2 separate regions of the Homo sapiens genome follow, and region 2 is linked to region 1. Evidence: promoter capture Hi-C in human tissues and cell types (Jung and others, 2019). All regions are on one chromosome and are shown on one strand. Each heading gives the region's core, a stretch centred on a gene start or on the middle of the fragment in contact. The rest is flanking DNA. Distances are from core to core; before and after follow the strand shown. Region 1 holds the start of COX20 (cytochrome c oxidase assembly factor COX20). Region 2 overlaps LINC02774 (long intergenic non-protein coding RNA 2774).

The links. The method cuts DNA at HindIII sites, captures the fragments that hold promoters and counts their contacts. A contact is called where the count stands out against the background at its distance.
Region 2: a contact is called between a fragment that was not itself captured here and the fragment with the promoter of COX20 in region 1, in 1 of the 25 tissues and cell types used here (ovary).

Annotation. Positions count from the first base shown.
Region 1 is chr1:244,834,046-244,837,498 of GRCh38, forward strand. It overlaps COX20 (cytochrome c oxidase assembly factor COX20), which reads left to right and starts at 1,613. Exons shown (of 4, transcript NM_198076.6): 1 at 1,613-1,711. The coding sequence starts at 1,670. RefSeq lists enhancers at 1-283, 787-846, 1,387-1,506 and silencers at 1,007-1,346, 1,587-1,636, 1,677-1,966. The HindIII fragment of the contact is 9,754 bases long and covers 1-3,453 here.
Region 2 is chr1:244,041,187-244,044,639 of GRCh38, forward strand. LINC02774 (long intergenic non-protein coding RNA 2774) reads left to right here. Exons shown (of 12, transcript NR_033883.1): 9 at 241-369; 10 at 2,237-2,363. Among named protein-coding and RNA genes, the nearest start is that of ZBTB18, 8.4 kb to the right of the region's middle. The HindIII fragment of the contact is 5,750 bases long and covers 1-3,453 here.

The DNA.
Region 1 (3,453 bases), core at 363-2,862:
GCTCCCTGCAACCTCCGCCTTCCGTTTTCAAGCTATTCTCCTTCCTCAGGCTGCCGAGTAGCTGGGATTACAGGCGCCCCCCACCACGCCAGGCTAATTTTTGTATTTTTAGTAGAGGCGAGGTTTCACCAAGTTGACCAGGCTGGTCCCGAACTCCTGACCTCGTGATCCGCCCGCCTCAGCCCCCAAAGTGTTGGGATTACAGGCGTGAGCCTCCGCGCCCGGCACAGTATGTAGTTTCTAACTACAATTTCAAAAACAAAAACAAAAAAACCCCCCCCGCCCCCGCAAAAAAAAACCTCAAAAAAAAAAATGTGACACATAAATACACAACCTTAACTGTGTATTTTACTGGGATTGTAGAAAGGTATCAAATGGGCATGCAAGTAAGGTCCTTACGGAGTAAGAAAACGCCCAATGAACAGTACTTAATATGAATTCGACATCGTTAACACTGAGCGCTTGCTGTGTGCCAGCGCGCAGCATAATTCGAAGCAGCATGACTTTGCACAATGACATATTCTACAAGTCCAGTTTCCTAAGGAGTGCCCTTAGGTTACATATAACCTAAACGTGAAATGTAGAAGTACATAAAGGAGGCATAAAGTTAAAGGGGAAAAATTATAAATACTAGAAAAAATTGCATTGTATTATTTTGATGGCTGAAAAATGGGCTCGACCCTGCATGCACGCGTTCTCCATTGAGCTCGACAATATGCAGTATTTTGTTTCACGTTATGTCGCAGTCTTAGGGAGGAGTGAAACGTGGAACACGACTTCACATCAAAAATGCACGTTGCAGAGGCATTTTTCCTTCGGGGACGCCGGAAGACTTCGCCACACGCGCGCCCTCTCCGCGGACACCAACGTGCTGACGCATGTTCATTAGCGAGCTGCTCCCTCCATTTTGTCCCCAGTCTCCTTTAGGCGAACTGCGCGGTTCTATGTTAAAGCCACTTAGTAATGAAACTATAAAAGGGAGGAAGTGGGGTGGGCGTGGGAGCCCCGTTTGCGCAAGGCAGGCGCGGGGGACTAAATGGCTGCTGGTGCAGAGTGGGGCTGCCCCGGCACCAAGGGCTCGTCCCGTGGCCGGAAGGACAAAGGACACTTAGGGGACGAGGGCCGCCGAGCCAGCGCGGAGCGCCTTCCGGGTCGGTGGGCTGGGGCGGGCTGGGGGCTGGGGCCGGGCCGACCCCCGCGGTGGGGCCCACCCCGCAGGACAAAGCAGCGGCCCCGCCCCTCGGCGCGCGCCCGAGGCTCGTGCGTGTGAGCACGCGCGCCGGAGACGGTTAGAAATGGCGGTTGGGGCGGAGCAGGGGGCTGGCGCGGGAAGCGGGGCTGTCTGGCTCGGTTACGCCCCCACCTCGCCAGGAATCTAGGAGTCGGTTTGTTTTCCGAACCCATCTCCTTCCGCTCTCCCGCCCCTGCAGGCTGTGTGCCGAGCTTGGAAGAAAGTGTGACCCGTTCGACGGAACAAAGGACATGACAGCCCGGCCCCGTGCGGCCACTGCGGAGCGTTAGGAACATTCCCTAAAATGGCGGCCGGCGCGTCGGAACAGGGCGGGAGGCGGCGGCGCGTGGGGGCGGGACGGGGAGGGGCGCGGCCAGCCGGGCTTCTGCTTCCGCGACCCCGGCGGTGCAGGGCGGGTGGAGTCGCGGAGTAGTCCTCATGGCCGCCCCGCCGGAGCCCGGTGAGCCCGAGGAGAGGAAGGTAACCTGGGGGTCGGCGGGGCGCGCGCCGCGGGTGGGCGGTGGGTAAGGACGTTCTCCGCGGAGCTCCTAGGCCCGGAGCACGTGTCACTGGCTTCTCTGCCACCCATGGGCTTGAAACTATTTTAACTGTTCCTAGTCCTTATCCCAAGCCTCCAACATTTTAATCTAAGTGGCCGGGACAAAATTGACCAAAACTAGGGGGAGGAGGGGACCAGTAGTACTAATGACTTACTACAGGTCATTATGAAATAAGCTAACAATACTGAATCTTTGGCGAGAAAATTTTGCTGCTAAGGGCACTGCACTGTAATTTGTTAGTAAAGGCTAATAGTAGAGATTAAAGCTCCGTTGAGGACAGGTGCCTTGTCTTTAACACGTTGTATTCATCACATTTAACATAGGAGTAATTGCTGAGGGATGACTTGATTGTACTACGATGAGATGAAGGGTTAAGATTTCTTCCCCATCACCAGTAGCCTCCCTAGCTGGTGTCCCTGTCTCCATACTCTCCTGAATCCACCTTCCACTATTGTCCGCTGGCCCTTTCCAGCCTGTAAACTGGACAGTTTTCATTCCTCTGCCTAACATCCAGTCGTAGCAGCCCATCCTATCTCTTTAAGGATAAAACCCAAATTCTTGGTATAGTAAAGCTAAACCAAGCGCTCTCCCTGGAAGGGCTCCTGTGTTTCACCAAAGCTGACTTACGTACTTTCCCCATCTTCCCAGGCATCTTGTACGTCGTTACATTTATCATATTGGAAGGTAATAAATGATCTTGTTTTCCTCTTTTCCTGGGCTCCTTATTAAGAGCAGGGAACCTAATTTATATCCTCAGGGCAGAACAGGTATTCAGAAAAGAATAATGCAAGAGGAAAAAAGTTTAATATAAACTAGGGAGATCGTAACATTGGCTAATCACGAGCAAATATTTATAGAAGACCCACTGTGTGCTAAATGGCTCCTAATATATACTTAAGATATTCTCCCAGCTTGGAAATTCTGCTCACTTCTTGCTCTTGCTTGCTTCTCTGGTGGGCTTCCATCCAAATTTGGCCATGACATCAGATCATATGGTTAATATTAACAAATATTGTATAAATTGTTTTCATACTTAATATCCAACAGGTTGTCAGTTTACGTACTACTGGTGCCTTATCTGTTTTTACTGTCCCATACACTGCCCATCTGGAATAAGCTTAGTGTTTAAAAAAAAAAAAAGATCTTTGCATACACACAGTAAATCCTAGATTCAGTTTTGTGATAAACACTGGAATCCTGAATGGGACTTTTGGTAGGAGATAACTGCTGTTTTTAAAGGTCATAAAGGTGGTTTAATCCATTGGAAATTAAAAAAAAAAAACTTAAAAGAGGATCAACATTGACCTATTTAACTGGCCCATCAGTAAGTAGCAAAACAATACTGTAGTTGTTGAAATGAAGATAGTTATAAGCCTCAAACCGAGCACAGTCAGAGGTGGGAGGCCAAAAAAACAAAAATTGCTCATGAAACAGTAGTACCTATCAGAGCCCATCAAAAAGCTAATTAAATTAATAGAAGCTATGATGAATTAACAGCCCAAGGTGCTGTCAGAAAGGAAGCCTGCGGTTATTTTTTTTAAAAGAATTTGTCAGTGATCATTCCAGCACAACCCAGGGAGGATTATTTTATTATAAGAATTAGCAAACCTAAAGTAAAAATGGGAGTTACCAAGCTGGCATACCTTGATAGAACTAGCCCCT
Region 2 (3,453 bases), core at 683-3,182, 790 kb before region 1:
CAAAAAGTAAATAGATGCTTTTCTGGTAGTCTACATAATAAGCTGTCCTTCATCCCAAGTTTAAAGGGAGCAGTTGAACATGTAAAGCATTGCTAATCCCGCTGGCCTTGGAAAAATGCAAAGGTGTAAGTTATTTCTTTTCATTATCTCCCTTCCCTTTTCCCCGCCTTCCCCTTTCTTTTCCTTCTCTTCTGCCCTCTCCCTTCTTTCCTTCTGTTCTCTCCCTCCCTCCCTTTCTAGACTATTTCTTGAATGCGTATTATGTGCCAAGCACCATTCTAGGTGCTAAGGATACAGCTATTATCATAGAAGAGTCCCCATCCTGAGGAAGCTTACATCCCACCAAGGAAGATAGGAAACAAAAAATAGGTGGGTATCTTTGATAATGGGAATTTTCCTGGTTCACTTTATCAAAGTAGTTCAAGAGTGTTTCCTTCCAATGCTAGTTCGTGCATCTGGTTATGAGCCAGGCCAGATGTTTTGTACAGAGGCTGATGTAATTCCAACCAGGCCTGATGCATGATAGGGATTCAGTGGCTGTTGAAGGAATGAATTTATTTCTGAAATGTGATTAGTTAGGTTAACAAATAGTTCAAATTACTCAATGAAATGTCAATACATACCTACAATTTCCCTATAAGGTCAACCTAAAACTACGCAATGAATGTGCTATGAAATTCTTATCTCTATTAAGAAAAATCTAGTTCATATTAAGCCAATCTTACCAGAAAAACCAGCCAAACTAGTAACTTAGGTATATGAGTGTGCATGTGAGTACACACACACACACACACACACACACACACGCCTTGCCCTGATCGTAGCAACCTCATGTCTGGAAAGAGTTAAATACTGAGTATAGTCTACATTATTTTTTTAAAATTCTTTATTCTTTTATCAAGTGCTCTCTTGGCAAAATCAACTGAGTATATTCTAGTCTTCTTTACTTTGGGGCCAGCTATTTCATGAAGTATTATTTAAGAATAATTTGCAAGACAAAAAATAGTGGCATACATCAGCAGAGCCCAGGAAGAAGTATTCACATCTCTGCTTTATTTACCTTGCTGCTGCCACCACCAACTCTGCCAGCACCATTGCCACCACCATGGCCTCTACCATAGACCACTTCCCAGTGGGATCTTTCCTTCTCTTTACCTCTCTTCCGTTATCCTTCTTCTACACTGTCACCATCTTCTCACCATTCTTTACAGCCCTCCCATCCCTGTAAAGCTGTTGTCCCATATATTGCTCTACTCTGTCTGTCATTTGTCTCTAAAATGCCCTATTGTGCATGTGTCTTTGTTATGCAGTCTCTTGTCACTGTCTGTTTTAGTGAGCCTGTGTTCCTGCATCTGTCCCATATCCCAAGTGCTAAGGTACGGCGTGGCATTGTACACCAGTTGTGAGTCCAATTTCTTTTTCTGAACCCAAACTTTTTTTTTTTGCCATGACCTTGCTGAACAGCCTCAGTTGTGTAAAGTTACTTCAGAGCAATGGGTTTTCAGTTAAAACATGTGACATTTATGTACAGAGACAGAGAACAAAGAAAGCTTCAAGGCCCCTAGAAGGAATGTGAAATGTGTGTTCTCTGAGTTCATATTCAAGAACCACTTTTCCTATTGTCTCCCATAAAGCTATTACTGCAGCTTCAATTTAAAATGCTTATTTTTACTGAGTTTAATTTAGATACACATTTGCATTGTAAAATGGGTACTTTAAAAATAATCATTTTAGTCTTAGGCATAAATGCTAGTTCTTTGTAAGAGAAGTAACTTCCTGAGTTGCATGTTATTGCTAAGGGCGAAGTAAATTTCTGGAGTGAAATTTAACCTTCTGTCTGCTCTTATTACCGGGAATAGTTTGAATTTGGTATGTATCAAGACTTTTGTGTTAAATTTATAGAATTTCTTTATAACCAAAGAGTTGTATTAAGACAATTTTATCTTGTTACAGTAGTTAAGATTGGTAAACACTTATTAGGCATCAGCAACATATTAGTCTCTGAAAGAAAAATGAAATCTCATCTTTGTCCAGTGGATTCACAATGACATTTATATATACATAATGAAGATATAAGAGGGAATGATATTATTTCATGTATTGTTGGCACCCAGCACATGGTGGAAACTTAACAAGAACCATGATAATGCAGTTTCGTGTTTCTCTAACATATACTAAGTTCTTAGTAAATAATTTCTAGATGTATCATTTTCCTTTCTGCTTGTTTAAATCCAAGAAGGTGCTGCATTCAAGAGTGAAGCAAGCACAAAAGGAAAGGAAAAATCTCTCCCTGGAGGAGAATGCAGACAGACAGACAGACGCTATTTGTATCTTTGCGTCCGAAGCACAGCAGCTAACACACAGTAGGTGTGAGGCATCAATATTACCTGGTAACCTCTCTTGTTCTGTTCATTTCAACTTTTCTAAGTTCATTTGCAACCCGAATTTCTACAAACTCCAATTTAAGCAATGTAATACAAGTGAGAATATTAGCATTCAAATATTTAGAAGTCTTATCCTCTCATTTTGAATAAAACAACTTCTATTTACTAATATTGTACAACATTTTAGCACAATTGATACCCCTGAAGACTTCCATCATTGAAGAAGGGGTTCTGAATATCATAGGTTCATATTAAATCTTTCTTTAGTAGAATTTACTCATCTGGAAGTCACATGTTTAGTTGGGTTATTTTAAATGGTAAATCTTAAAAAGCCCACAGATGAAACGAGTGTATCTTTTAATTATCCAAAGTAATGCAGCCTTCAACCCCACAGATTAACTCCAACATCTGGTATTTGAAGGCATGTGATTCTTAAGGATGGTAGACTTGCCTTTAGAAATTTGTTTTGTTTAGGATAGCCTTTAAATAATTTTTAACTGATTAAACTCCCACCAGTGAATGATACAAAGGCATCCTGTGTAGCAAGGAAGCCAGCCAGCCTGGGGTTCAAAAGTGGCCTGGGATTATATACAAAGTGAATGATGAATATATTTATAGTACAAAGTTAACAAGAAAAGCCATCATTGTGTGCATTTTTTTCTTCCATATGCTGTAACGTATAATGTATTTTATGGGGAGACTGGAGGAGATAGAGGGGGGAGAGAGAATGAGAAGAGGGTTGTGAGTTGGGTGGCTACTGAAACACCTCTTTGCTTTTTTCCTAAATTCTCTGAAGTGGCCTGTCTTAGTCCCAACCAAGCCAGAAGTATTGGCCTCCTTCAGCCATTATGCTGTCTGTAAAAGCACTGATTTACAGTAAGCAACAAAACACTGGCTACACAGGAAAAAGAGTTTTAGGGAGACTATCCTTTGCTCCCCTCTGCCCTTAAGCCTCAGCAGGTTTGAATCACTGGTGTAGGTTCATTCTGCTTTCATTGGCATACCACCAATGCCTGCTGCAAATCTGCTAAGGACTTCTCAAGAGTTTATGACATTATTTCTATCTTCA